4 separate regions of the Homo sapiens genome follow, and regions 2, 3 and 4 are each linked to region 1. Evidence: promoter capture Hi-C in 16 types of primary human blood cells and fetal thymus (Javierre and others, 2016). All regions are on one chromosome and are shown on one strand. Each heading gives the region's core, a stretch centred on a gene start or on the middle of the fragment in contact. The rest is flanking DNA. Distances are from core to core; before and after follow the strand shown. Region 1 holds the start of CILP2 (cartilage intermediate layer protein 2). Region 2 has its middle 69 kb from the start of ZNF682. Region 3 overlaps ZNF93 (zinc finger protein 93). Region 4 overlaps LOC124904664 (a long non-coding RNA gene).

Region 1 (3,510 bases), core at 485-2,984:
TTGCTGGGTGTAGTGGTGCACGCCTGTAGTCCTAGTTACTTGGGAGGCTGAGGCAGGAGAATCGCTTGAACCCGGGAGGCAGAGGTTGCTGTGAGCTGAGATCGTGCCACTGCACTCCAGCCTGGGCAATAGAGAGAGACTGTATCTTAAAAACAAACAGGCTGGGCGCAATGGCTCACACCCATAATCCTAGCACTTTGGGAGGCCGAGGTGGGCAGATCACAAGGTCAGGAGTTCGAGACCAGCCTGGCCAATATGGTGAAACTCCATCTCTACTAAATATACAAAAATTAGCCAGGCATGGTGGCGTGTGCCTGTAGTCCCAGCTACTCGGGAGGCTGAGACAGGAGAATTGCTTGAACCCGTGTGGCAGAGGTTGCAGTGAGCCGAGATTGCACCATTGCACTCCAGCCTGGGTGACTGAAGACAGAGGCTGGGTCAGATGGAGGAGGGCGATTGAATAGTAGGATAGGAGCAGAAGCAGAAAGTCTGAGTGCAGAAGCTCTGGTCTGATTGGGAGGGAAACACCTCCAAGGACTGGGAGAGACTTGTCTGAGGGCGGAGGCAGAGTTCTAGGGGGCGACAAGTCTCACCAGGACCCATGTGCCAGAGAGAAAAGGCTGGGTCTGATGGGGGAGGGGAAGTGGGGGTGGGGCAGCAGGACTCTGGTCTGAGGGCAGAGGCTCAGTGTTGGAGGGGAGAGGAGAGGAGGCAGGGACAGGATGGACTCTAGGCTGAGGGCAGGCCACCCTCCCAGTTCCCAATCCCCCCGGACCCTCCTCCCTCAGGCTGGGACGCAGAGACCGGCAGCGATTCGGAGGACGGGCTGCGGCCTGACGTGCTGGTGTCTCTCGCGGCGCCCAAGCGCTGCGCTGGCCGCTTCTCCGGGCGCCACCACTTCGTGGCCGGCAGGTTCGTGCCCGATGACGTGCGCCGCAAGTTCGCTCTGCGCCTGCCGGGATACACGGGCACCGACTGCGTCGCGGCACTGTGACCGCCACCCGCGGCCACACCGCAGGGACCCTCGCCAATAAACAGCCCTCCCACCACCGCCGCCTCGCCTCCGCCTCCTTTGTGCACCGGGCCCGCTGCGGGGGTGGGCACACTCGAAGAGGGACTTCACACGGTCCCTGGGTGATCCAAGGCGGGGAGCATGAGAAGGGCGGTGGAGTGGGACTTCCCGCTGGCCTAGAAAACTTCAGCTAGGGCTGGGGGCGGTGGCTCCTGCCTGTAATCTCAGCACTTTGGGAGGCTGAGGCTGGAGGATCGCTTAAGGCCAGGAGTTTGGGACCAGCCTGGGCAACATAGCAAGATCCCGACTCTACAAATTAAAAGAAAAAGAAGAAAGAAAACTCGAGCCAGAAGAATGGAGGGTAGATTCAGGGTGGGACTCCCAGACTGTTTGGGGTGGCCTAAAGCCTATAGGATCGAAGTGAGACGCGAGACAGGACTTCCAGCCACCTAAAGCGGGTCCGAGCAGCTTGAGGCTGGATTCCAAGTGACACTTCCCTCAGGCAGCTTGGGATGCAGCTTGGAGGACTGAGTGGGCTCGGGGAGGGAGTTCCAGCAGGCCACGGGGAACCCAGGACAGCCTGAGGACGGAGGCACAGCCAGACGCACCAAGGGGGGCGACCCAGAGGGGTTGCTCGAGCGCCGTCACCCAGGGCCAGGGGGCGTGGCCTGAATGGGGCGTGGCCAGGGCGGGATCTGCGGTCGCATCCCGCCCCCACTCTCAGTCCCAGCGGCCGCCAGACCCGCCGGAGTTGGACCCGAGCACGCCGCGGAGCCCGGACCCTCCCTCGGACGCTCTGCCCCGGCCATGGCGTCGCTGCTGCCACTGCTCTGTCTCTGTGTCGTCGCTGCGCACCTGGCGGGGGCCCGAGGTGAGGCGCCTCCAGCCCCCGCGCCCAGCCCCTGAGGCTCCCGAGGGCCTGGCAGCCGGCCTTGGGTGAAGCCGCACTCGGGGAGAGAACCCAGGGACCCACGCGCTTCCCCGGGGACTGGGTCCCCTTCACCAGTCGGATCCCCGCGACCACCTGGGGCGCGGAGCGGGCCTCATCCATTCTCTTCCTTGGCTAAGCCGGGAGTGTGGATAAGAACCTAGGGTTCCTCCCGGGGTTTGGACTCTGAATCACCGGCCAGGTCTCCCACCCTGGACCGAAGGGGTCGGAACTGGCCCCTCCCACCTAACTCCCACACACGCACTCACTCCAACCGCTGGAGAAAGAAATGCCCATCCCTGGAACACTCAATGGGGCGGGGGACGGGCCCACTTCTCAAGTGAGGAGACTGAGGCACCCAGAAGGAAGGGGCTTGTCTGACCTCATCACTCTGCTGGGAGTATCTTGGACAGCTCCTATCTTGGAGAAGCCAGTCTAGATTCCAAGGACTTCCCGGCAGCTCGGACTGTAGTACAGGGATGGAAGACAGACTAAGGGAGGGGCTTCCAGCAGGCCAAGTGGATGAGGGGGAGCCCAGCCTGAGGGCAGAGGCACAGCCAGCTGAACTTGATTGATCTCGCGGCAGCTGAACATAGTGGGAGGGAGACTCTAGCCTAGGGGAACTGGGTGGTACTTGCACTTCCCCAGCCGGGGGGTTAGGGCTAGGTCAGAGAGAGGTACCTGGCTTTGGGGGCCTGGTGGTGGTCATGGGCAGCGCGCTGGAGGAGAGTGTATGGCAGCCCTTGGGGCTAGAGCTGGGTTCTGGCCTCTCAGAGCCTCAATTTTCCCTCCTGTTAAAATGGGGATCATGGGCCAAGCACGGTGGCTCACGCCTGTAATCCCAGCACTTTGGGAGGCCGAGGCGGGCGGACTACCTGAGGTCAGGAGTTTGAGACCAACCTGGCCAACATGGTGAAACCCCGTCTCTACTAAAAATATAAAAATTAGCTAGGCCTGGTGGAGCGTGCCTGTAATCCCAGCTACTCAGGAGGCTGAGGTGTGAGAATCACTTGAACCCAGGAGGCAGAGGCTGCAGTGAGCCGAGATCGTGCCACTGCACTCCAGCCTGGGTGACAGAGGGAGATTCCGTCTCAAAAAAAAAAAAAAAAAGGGGGGGGATGATCGTGGCTGCACCTTGCCTAAAAGGAGGCTCCCAGCGGTCCCCATCAGTAGCAGCGTGCTTCCTTCTCCCCACTCCTCACCCACAGACGCCACCCCCACCGAGGAGCCAATGGCGACTGCACTGGGCCTGGAAAGACGGTCCGTGTACACCGGCCAGCCCTCACCAGCCCTGGAGGACTGGGAAGGTGAGTTAGCCTGCCTCGGAGTCCCGTCTCTGCTGCGGGCTTGTTGGGGGTGGGGCTTGGGCTACTGGGGTCGTGTGAGGAGAGGGCACACACTAGACGAAGGGCCCGGCGCCGTCCTGGTCCCCGGACATGACAGCCCCTGGAGGTGATGCCCCAAGTTCAAGATCTAAGTGAGAGGCCGGTCAGACAGAGGCAAGAGCTCAGCGCACCGGGATGGACCAGGTCAGGCCCTGGGCGGCAGAACTGGGGTCGCGGGGAACCCA
Region 2 (3,510 bases), core at 369-2,868, 430 kb after region 1:
CTTAAGTTTAAGTGAGTCGTTATGTGTTGGGTGAGCCTCTTGAAGACAGTAGATATTTCGTTGGTAAACTCTTATCCATTTTGCTATTCTGCATCTTTTAACTGGAATATTTAGGCCGTTTACATTCAACGTTAGTATTGAGATGTGAAGGACTATTCTATTCATTGTGCTAGTCATTGCCTGAATACCTTCTTTATTGTGTTATTGTTTTATAGGCCTTGAGAGATTTATGCCGTAAGGAGGTTCTATTTCATTGTATTTTGAGGTTTTGTTTCAAGATTTAGAACTCCTTTTAGCAGTTCTTACAGTAGTGGCTTGGTAGTGGTGAATTCTCTAAGCATTTGTTTGTCTGAAAAAGACTGTATCTTTCCTTCATTTATGAAGCTTAGTTTCACTGGATACAAAATTTTTGGCTGATACTTGTTCTGTTTAAGGAGGCTAGACAGAGGACCCCAATCGCTTCTAGCTTGTAGGGTTTCTGCTGAGAAATCTGCTGTTAATCTGATATGTCTTTCTTTATAGGTTATCTGATGCTTTTGTCTCACAGCTCTTAAAAATCTCTTCTTCATATTGACTTCAGATAACCTGGTGACTATGCGCCTAGGTGATGATCTTTTTGTGATGAATTTCCTTGGTGTTCTTTGAACTTCTTGTATTTGCATGTCTAGATCTCTAGCAAGGCCAGGAAAGTTTTTCTCAATTATTCCCTCAAATAAGTTTTCCAAACTTTTAGATTTCTCCTCTACCTTGGGAACACCAATTATTGTTAGATTTTATTGTTTAACATAATTCCAAGCTTCTTGGAGGCTTAGCTCATTTTTAAATTCTTTTTTGTTTGTCTTTGTTAGATTGGAATATTCAAAAGTCTTGTCTTTGAGGTCTGAAGTTCTTTCTTCTACTTGTTTGGTTCTATTGTTGTAATTTCCCACTATAATTTGCATTTCTTTAAGTGTGCCTTTCATTTCCAGAAGTCATGGTTGTTTTCTATTTATGCTATCTATTTCTCTGGAGATTTTTTTCATCCATATCCTGTATTTTTTAAAAATTTCATTAAGTTAGTATTCACCTTTCTGTAGTGTCTCTTTAAGTGGCTTAATAATGGAATTTATGAATTCTTTCTCTGGCAATTCAGGGATTTTTTTCTTGGTTTGGATCCACTGCTAGTGAGCTTGTGTGGTCCTTTGAAGGTGTTAAAAAAAATTCTTGCTTTTGGCCAAGCATGGTGGCTCACAGCTGTAATCCCAGCACTTTGGGAGGCTGAGGCGGGTGGAACATGAGGTCAGGAGATCGAGACCATCCTGGCTATCACGGTGAAACCCCATATCTACTAAAAAAACAAAAAGCTAGCCAGGTGTTGTGGTGGGTACCTGTAGTTCCAGCTGCTTGGGAGGCTGAGGAAGGAGAACGGCATGAACCTGGGAGGCGGAGCTTGCAGTGAGCCGAGATCATGCCACTGCACTCCAGCCTGGGCGACAGAGTGAGGCTCTGTAACCAAAAAAAAAAAAAAAAAAAAAAAATTATTGCTTTTTTATATTACCAGAATTTTGTTTTGGTTCCTTCTCATTTGGGTAGTCTATGTCAGAAGTAAGACCTGAGGCTCTAGGCTGCTGTTCAGATTCTTTTGTTTCATGGGGTGATCCCTTGATGTGATGGTCTCCCCTTTTCCCTTGGGATGGGGCTTCCTGAGAGTCAGACTGCAGGGATTGTTATTGCTCTTCTGGGTTTAACCACCCAGTGGAGCTACTGGTCTCTGGGCTGGTACTGGGGAGTATCTGCAAAGAGTCCTGTGATGTGATCTGTCTTCAGGTTTCTCAGCCATGGATAATACCACCTGCTCTGGTAGAGGTAGCAGGGGACTAAAGTGGACTCTGTGAGGGTCCTTGGTTGTAATTCAGTTTAGTGCACTGGTTTTTTTGAATGCAGGTTGTTCTAGCAGTGAAGTTGTCACATGGACAGACTGAAGACTTCTGTGTAGCCAGGATGTTACAATGTTACAGGTGGAATTAGCTGTTGTTTTCTCCTTTATTGGAGTGGGTTTTTTTTTTTTTTTTTTTTGAGATGGAGTTTCACTCTTGTTGCCCAGGCTGGAGTGCAGTGGCACGACCTTGGCTCACTGCAACCTTGGCCTCCTGGGTTCAAGTGATTCTCCTGCCTCAGCCTCCTGAGTAGCTGGGATTACAGGCATGTTCCACCATGCCTGGTTAATTTTACATTTTTAGTAGCGAGGGGGTTTCTCCATTTTTGTCAGGCTGGTCTCAAACTCCTGACCTCAGGTGATCCACCCACCTCAGCCTCCCATAGTGCTGTGATTATGGGTGTGAGCCACCCCACCTGGCAGGGGTCATTATTTTGTGAGTTACTGTAAGGGCTTGAGTTGGTTGGCCTCCAACCTGGAGGTGGCAGCTTTAAGACAGCATCAGCTGTGGTAATATGGGGGTATGCAAGCTTGCCACCAGGTCACCTGGATAAGTATTCATGTTTTTCAGGCAATGAGTGGGAACATAGAGCTCCCAAGAGAGTATGTCTTTTGTCCTCAGCTACCAGGGTGGGTAGAGTAAGACCATCAGGTGAGGGCAGGGTTGGACATGTCTGAGCTCAGACCCTCCTTGGGTGGGGCTTGCTGCAGCTGCTGTGGGGTTGGGAGTATGGTTCTCAGGCCAATGGAGTTATGTTTCCAGGGGGATTATGGCTGCCTCTGCTGTATCATATAGGTCAGGATGGAAGTGAAGGAAAGCCAGCAGTGACAGGCCTCACTCAGCTCCCATGAAGCCAGCAAGGCCAGTTTCACTCACACCCTACCCACCAACAGCATCAAGTTTATATCCAGTTGGTGAGCAGTACTGAGATCTTGCCCCAGGCTATAAGCCTCCCCATTGAGAAAGCAACCTGGGCTTTCAGGCCCCACCCCTCACCACCTGCCATGGATTCTGTGCCCATATCTGTGCTTCCCATTCACTGTCCCCTCACCGATTCTGCCAAGGAAAATTCACACTAGGTCAAAACTATTACAAAGTTTAGCTGGCAGTTTCCTTCTCCCTGTGGTTCTTCCCCAATTCCACTGGCAGCCCGTCCCAAGGACCCCTGTGAGATAAAGTCAGAAACGGCTTCCCTGAGGACCAAGAGTGCCTGTAGGGCTCTTCCCACTGCTTCTTCTACTTTTATATTTTGCTTGGCTCTCTAAGTTCATTTCGGCTCTAGGTGAGGTTAAATGCTTCTCTGGTGATCTGGATTTTCAGGTTTTGAGTATGTGTGTTTAGAGGTGAATGTTCCGTCTCTTACACTTTTGGCACTTTCTGTTTTTCAGTTGTCTCGCAGAGGTTGCAGTGGCAAGCCACTTCTTTCAAAGAGTCTGTGCATTCTTTTGGTTTTCCTGGTATGTTTCTATGGTAGTTCTTGGAGCAAAAGTTCATGATGAGAGTCTCCACATGCTGTTCTGTCCATCCAAGTGGGAGATACAAGTTAGTCCTGTCTCCTAGCCACCATTTTTTCTTTTTGCCTTTTGAGAGAAAG
Region 3 (3,510 bases), core at 705-3,204, 370 kb after region 1:
ATATAAGCAATTAGTATACACAGATGGCCTCTTCAGTATCCAGGTGAATTTAGGATGAACTATATATGACATGGTGCTGAAAATTCTTCTACTTGTGGACTAATTATGATGACCATCTTTCTGACTTTGCAGTCTCTTAAGCAGATTGATGATGATGTATGTCACATTCAAGTTTAATTGTGTAATAAGACCATTTTCTTTCTGTTCTATTATTGTGGAGTTTCTCTGAAAATAGAGAAAATTTTTCTTTTAATTATTGTTTCCACAGAGTGTCTAGAATTACCAGACATGATATAAACACATAAGGTGCCAACCAGAATTTACTGTAGAGGGGACTTTCCCTCTCAGACTTTGAGTCAGCCCATACTTGCGCAGCAAAATGCATGCTGTCCATTAAATATGCACGTGGAATTTTGTCTCTGCCTATTTGGTATTGATAGTTCCTCTACTGTCACTTCTAGAGAGGCTAGACCCAATTTCTACAAACTTCACAGGGCAGCAATTAATTAATCATTTAACCTTTTTCAGTGACTCTTGTATCTTCAGATTTGAAACTGATTCAGAAACTATGGAGCCCAGAAACCCAATCAGAGTAACATGTGTGTGCTGAGTAGACATAGAGACATGAGAATCTCCACTTTCCCCTTCCTCCTCTTGCTAAATGCTCACAAATGTACAGGTAAACACCTGTGGCTACTCCAGTCGTTCAGGCCCTAAACTTGAAGCTCCAAATTTTGAATCCAGGTCTTGAGATTTGGGGGAAAAAAAAACTTACCTAAGAAATGCAAGTCCCTTTGGTTATCAAACTCAGACATTAAAATGAAAGTACTGTTATGTCTTTCTCCCCCCTTTGAACTATGTATTCATCTCTTGAAACTGTTCACTATTGCCACAAGTAATTATAAATTAAACTAATAATGCCACATTAGACACTATATCCCATACCCTAAACCATAATAATATATATGTAATCAATAATCGATGTTATTTCTGTAAATAAATAAAAATTTCTGACAATCAACTTTGTATCAGCCCACTCTCTGTCCCTGTCTTGTTGTCTTTACAAATTGTCTTGTAACTGCTGGTAATCAAAATGCAGATTCCAGGCAACTTGAATCTTTGCTCCCAGGTTATAATCCTTAAGCTTGACCCAAGTAAACTATCTACTTATATTCATGTTCTTTCAGCTTTTTTTTTTTTTTTTCATGTAGACTTACCATTTAGAATGTGCTAGAGTAGTCTCTATGAGGGGATCTCTCCTTTGATTGTATTCCACTTGCTGTAACACCAAAGGATGCAGAGCCAGGTGGATCCTACCTGGAATCTGCAGATAAGGTCTGGCCTCTGCCTGGGATTTACAAGAAAGGACCAGAACTTGGATTGAGAATGTACAGAAAATGAACAAAAGTCATTTTCTGCATTGTGAATGTAAACATAGACATCTTACAGCCCCCATTTGGGAGTGTGGCTCTTTGAGATTTTCACATCTTGTTCATTGACCTGCTACAGTTATGTGAGGGGCTCCAGGAGAAATAGACTCAGATGGCAGAATCTGTAAGTGTAAATAAGCATCTTAGGAGTGAGAGATCGGGGCCACAAAGTATCCAGAGCCATGACCACAATTATATTTAGCTGTAAAATGTAATACTAGAGTAGAGTATTTTTGATCTTTCTCTTACCCAAGAGCTAGCAAATCAGAATGGGTGATCCAGGTTCTGGAGCTCCACCAGGGCAGTTCCATTTTCTATTCAGAGTTAGCCTGAGTCTCTCCAGCCTGGCTTATCATTGGGCCATGAGGCCTGGGTCACTGGGAATCTCTCACAATCACCCAGGTGTCTTTGAGGCATTTGAGGATGTCCAGAGCAGAATTTTGTCAGGCTGACAAGAGTGGTTAATTCTGCTTCTGTCTCAGTGTAAGAGAAATGAGTCATCCTGTGTTTGTTCATTCCCTCATACAAGAGATATCTTTGGTTGGTACCCCGATGACAGCTTCTCCAGTTTCCTGGTACTTGGATAATAAGGAGAAGATCTGGAGACCCAGATAGATAAACTAGCTCCTTCCACTTCATATGGGCATTAAAAAAATACATGAAGCAGTCATAGTTCCTACAATCCAGAAACTTTTAGTCTAGACTAGCTACTGGATAAGTAATTGAAGTGTGCATCATATGGTTGGTATAATAAATAGATGTGTTAAAAATCTTGGGCTTTAGACCACTTTCTTTATATTGTTGTGACTTCTGATGTCTACACCTGAAGGGAGATTTATGAACAAAATAATTGTTATAAATTCTTTTTTTTTTTTGAGATGGTGTTTCACTCTGTCACCTGGTCTGGCTTGCAGTGGCACGATCTCGGCTCACTGTAAACTCTGCCGCCCGGGTTCAGGTGACTTTCCCTTCTCAGCCTCCCGAGTAGCTGGGATTACAGTTGCCTGCCACTGCACCTAGCTAATTTTTGTATTTTTACTAGAGGCGGGGTTTCATCATCTGGATCAGGCTGGTCTTTAACTGCTTGACCTCGTTCTGCACCCGCCTTGGTCTCCCAAAGTCTTGAGATTACAAGCATGACCCACCGCGCTTGGCCGTATATTTTCTATTTCTTTTACCTTGCTAACTGTAGATATTTATTTTCTAATAAAATTACCCTAGAAAACCTTAAGGGATTTGTTTAAGTTGCATACTAGTATATAGTATAAAGTTGTCAGGGCAGTGACTAGAAAAGATAAAAACTACAGAAACTCTGGGATTTAAGTTTCTTTTAGGTAAGCTTAGAAACAAAACAAAACTGGAAGTTTCCTAGTTGCATAGAGAACAGAATTCTACATAGGGTTCTCACCCTGCCCCAGACGTGTTCAGATTCATCCTTTTTGGAGACCTTAGTTAGGTCTGAACCTACCCTGGAGTATTGCCTCACAGAACTCATTAAAGGAGATCAGAGTTTTGGCTGCTGAATCCTGCTGCCTTTCTAGAGCTGGTGCTCACAATTTCCTGAAATTCAAAAGCAGATAAATCGGGAAAAAAAGTATGTTTTGTAAGGTGTTTGTTTTTAAATTTTTTATTAAAACCAGTGCTTGCAGAGACATTGTATTTAGCAACTTGTTTTCTATTCCTGCAGATCCAGTAGTTGCTGCACAAGTCAAAAAAGTAAATATAAACAGAATGAAATTTTCTCTAGACTACATTAAACTCTTCTGTATCTCTTTCATCTGTCTATATTTAGCTTTTATTCTATACAATTTTTTAAAAAATTTGATGACAGAGAAACAGAAGAAAAAATAAAAATGGGCCCTTTATCTAAATCCTGAAAATTAAGAAACACTTAGTACCAGCTCCCCGGGTGTTAAGAGAATTAAATCATATAATGTGTTATGCCCAGCACCGTGCTCTGTATCATACTCTAGCACATAGTGCCTGCTTAATAAACATTGCATTAGTACCTGTGTACATGTTCTTTTTAAAATACAGACTTATTCAGATATTGCTGTCTTCTGTTTCCTCTGTAAATTTT
Region 4 (3,510 bases), core at 281-2,780, 320 kb after region 1:
ATACAGTGTCAGGGGATTATTCTTTGCTTTCTTCTCCTGGGAAATATTTACAAACAGAAAACAAATATTTTCAATAGTGTTATGCCATGCTTTTTAAAGAATGATTAATTGAGGAACATGGGGTACACTTGAGGCCCTGCTTGGGACACATGTGAAAAATGCCAGGGAAAAATCAGTTCCCTGTGAGGTGTGAAAATAATTAATTGCACTTTTTGTTAAATTACTATATTAAGGGAAATAAAATTCAAGCTTACACAACTATAAACTGCCAATTAAGCTCTGAATCATAACTAGGACATTTCCACCTCGATTGTACAAAATAAGAAACTACGTAACTATACCTAACCAACGATTGAATATGGTTTTCTTCATCATGCACCTTATAAATGTCTTTCCTTCAAGCCCCTACCATGGACCATAAAGTACAAACTATAGCTGGGTGCTCAACAATTCTTGAATCACTCTTTAATTAAATTATTTGATATTTTTGCGGCGACTCTCATATTTTTTTTTTTTAGACAGAGTTTTGCTCTGTCGCCCAGGCTGGAGTGCAGTGGTAAGATATCAGCCCCTGCAACCTCTGCCTCTTGGGTTCAAGCGATTCTGTCACCTCTGCCTTCCAAGTAGCTGGGATTACAGACATTCGCCATCACACCCAGCTAATTTTTGTATTTTTAGTAGAGATGGGGTTTCCTCATTTTGACCAGGCTCGTCTTCAACTCCTGACCTCAAGTGATCCGCCCGCCTCGGCCTCCCAAAGTGCTAGGATTCCAGGCGTGAGCCACCGCGCAAGGGCCCATACATTTTTAATAGGAGAAAAGGGAAACTGTGAAGACCAAGCACCAAAGCTCTTCCCATTCATGAACTTGCATCCTGAGTCAGGATTCTCCCCTGAGGACCCTCCCGTGGTCCCTGCACGATCTGGGAGACACGTGGCGCTGTGGGTGCAGAGCTGCCCGGAGAGGGCTCCAGGCCAGGGCACAGTCACTGCGAGGGGAAGAGACAGGACGCCGGGGGGCCCGGGTGTGAGCGCAGCCTCCATCTTACGGCTGAAAGGGACTGAGGCCGAGCTGGGCAAGGAGAACTTGGGGCGCAGATTGCGGAGCTGACTGCGGGGAGGCCTGAGTCCCGCCACAGCCACTTCCCACCGGTTCCAACCAGTTCCTCCCCTGCTCTCGTGATGTCCGACGGCACTCACCATTTCTAGGCTTCCAGGAGGTCCTGGCGTCTTAGCTGTGGATCTCCCAAAACCGTCAGGTCACAGGGCTGGGCCTCCAGCAGCAGAGGACACAGAGTAGTGAAGATGAGACCTGGAGCTCCAGGTGCAGTGAGAGACAAAGGCCCCGCCAAACTCGGAAGTCGACCTGTTCGCTCCAGCTGGGTGTCTGATTGGACGGTTTCCAGCCCAGTGTCCCTGATTGGATAATGCTTAAGGCCTCGCCCCTTCAGGACCTAGTGAGAGAAGATGTGATAAGATGCTGCGCTGAGCAATGAAAGAGTCACAGCCTAAGCTGCATCTTTTTCAGGCAGGGCTTTCTCCCAGAGCTGAGCCAGGCCCACCCCAGAGCATGGGAAAATTCTATCTCTTTTTTGCTCTCTCTTTTTGAATGTATTCGAAAGGTGAACGGAAGTACTTTGCTGTTATATTAATAATACGTAAAATTTTTGTTCAAGAGAAAATCAACTTTTACTTTGGTAATAGTGTATTATCAATACTAAAGCTAATTTTAATAAAACCTTATAAACAAATCAAATTTGTCATTTTTGACCTTTCGAGATTTGCATATATATTTTGTAATCTCTTGTAATTTTTAAACTATTTATATTTTACTTATATCTACATTCCTTTTATTTTTTCAATTTGAAACAACCTTTAAGTAATTTCAAACTGCTATAGGAGATAGAAAGCATTTAGGGACAGGGACTGTGGCTCACGCCTCTAATCCCAGCACTTTGAGAGGCCAAGGTGGGCAGACTACTTGAGGTCAGGAGTTAAAGACCAGCCTGGCCAATATGGTGAAACCCCATCTCTACTAAAAATACAAAAATTTAGCCGGGCATGCTGGTGCACACCTGTGGTCCCAGCTACTACAGAGGCCGAGGCAGAAGAATCGCTTGAACCCAGGAGGCAGAGGTTGTGTAAGGCCCAAGGGGTTCACCTTGCCCTTTGCCTAGACAGAGCTGATTCATCAAGACAGGGGAATTTGTGGAGGAAAAGTTAAATATTAAATTTGAACTCAATTGAACGTGGACACAAACAATGATCACCAAGTCCAGGAAGAGGTTGTGTGAGACCTTTGATGCATTCATCCAGTGCTGTTTTGGAGAAATCTCTATTTCCATCTATTCCTATACTTTACTTATTGAAAAACGATAGACAATCACAAAAACAAGTTGACCTTTTTGTGTTCCTTGAGCCCAGTCACTAAGGGCCCTCGTGACTGGGCTTTATGCCAAATAAAAGAGCTGGGATCCCAGATGGCGCCGAAGTTTCATGAGACCTCTCCTCGTCTGTGCGTGGACGAGTGGCCGACTCTGAAGCCCAGGCTGTGGCTTCCTGGTCTGGTGGTGAATCCTCCACAGTCTGGGGAGTGTGGTGTCTGACTCTGGATCCCAGGGCTGGAAACTCAAGGACTTCCTATATCCCAGTTCTCCCCCTTGTCATGCCCCATCTGGTGAGTTTTGGGGGAACTCATGACCCAAGTCATAATAGGAATTTCAGGCCTCATAAAGACATCATGGTTGAAGCAGAGGTGTTCTGTTTCCAGCAAAGCCCTATAGGAAGCTAACAATTGCTTCTAGAAAGAGGTATAAGCTTTGCCGGCCTATGACAGTTTCTGGGTCCAAAACCTGAAATGTACCTCTTCCCATCTTGTTTCTGCCTAACGCTCCAATTAGCATGTTGATCTAGGACAGTTACTTGCAGTTCTACTGGCCCATCCCGTATGGAGCATAGATCCAGGGCCAGCAGCACCACTTGTTTAGCTTGTTCAGAAGCCATGCTCTCCTTCTTTCCCCAGTGAAAGTCATAGTGTTTTCTAGTGGCTGCATGCAGAGGTTGTAAAATGTTACCCAAGTGGGGAATATGATGTCTCCAGAATCCAAACAAGACAATACATTTCTGAGCCTCCTTTTTAGCAGCAGGGATTTCAAATTCTAGTATTTTAGCCTTAGCCTTTGATAAAATGGACTATTTCCTCCCATTCCATAGGATGCAACCAGCTCCTATCTTGACACATTAACCTATAAGCAGTAAGCAAACACCATCCACTCTGGGAGATCCCTCAGCATCTGCTTTGCTGACTGGAATCCCCTGCAGCCCTTCATGCACAGTCAAAAGTTTAAATTGCACTAATTTAGATTCCCAATTCTCACAAAGGCCAGTTCCCCTGGACCATTCAACTGCCAAGGGGGAGAAGTGGGGGATTTCCCATCTCTGGATATGGGAAGTCCACGAGCCTCTAGCCCCGTCCTTGTGGCCAAAAAGTGGCACACTTTGGTTTTCGAATC

Evidence for each region. The method cuts DNA at HindIII sites, captures the fragments that hold promoters and counts their contacts. A CHiCAGO score of 5 or more calls a contact.
Region 2: a fragment that was not itself captured here is called in contact with the fragment with the promoter of CILP2 in region 1 in 3 of 17 cell types (non-activated CD4 T cells, total CD8 T cells and activated CD4 T cells); the score reaches 6.7 in non-activated CD4 T cells.
Region 3: a contact is called between a fragment that was not itself captured here and the fragment with the promoter of CILP2 in region 1, in 1 of 17 cell types (non-activated CD4 T cells). The highest score is 5.4, in non-activated CD4 T cells.
Region 4: a fragment that was not itself captured here is called in contact with the fragment with the promoter of CILP2 in region 1 in 1 of 17 cell types (non-activated CD4 T cells); the score reaches 5.4 in non-activated CD4 T cells.

What each region holds. Positions count from the first base shown.
Region 1 is chr19:19,536,531-19,540,040 of GRCh38, forward strand. CILP2 (cartilage intermediate layer protein 2) reads left to right here and starts at 1,735. Exons shown (of 8, transcript NM_153221.2): 1 at 1,735-1,883; 2 at 3,149-3,247. The coding sequence starts at 1,820. YJEFN3 (YjeF N-terminal domain containing 3) reads left to right here. Exons shown (of 7, transcript NM_198537.4): 7 at 789-1,051. The coding sequence ends at 994. RefSeq lists a silencer at 1,611-1,980 and an enhancer at 3,073-3,510. The HindIII fragment of the contact is 27,377 bases long and covers 1-3,510 here.
Region 2 is chr19:19,968,796-19,972,305 of GRCh38, forward strand. It overlaps the pseudogene BNIP3P12. Among named protein-coding and RNA genes, the nearest start is that of ZNF682, 69 kb to the right of the region's middle. The HindIII fragment of the contact is 1,649 bases long and covers 795-2,443 here.
Region 3 is chr19:19,909,463-19,912,972 of GRCh38, forward strand. The region is part of intron 1 of ZNF93 (zinc finger protein 93); the gene reads left to right. Among named protein-coding and RNA genes, the nearest start is that of ZNF93, 10 kb to the left of the region's middle. The HindIII fragment of the contact is 1,625 bases long and covers 1,143-2,767 here.
Region 4 is chr19:19,859,865-19,863,374 of GRCh38, forward strand. LOC124904664 (a long non-coding RNA gene) reads right to left here. Exons shown (of 4, transcript XR_007067169.1): 3 at 1,199-1,452. Among named protein-coding and RNA genes, the nearest start is that of ZNF253, 4.3 kb to the right of the region's middle. RefSeq lists an enhancer at 1,025-1,575. The HindIII fragment of the contact is 2,566 bases long and covers 248-2,813 here.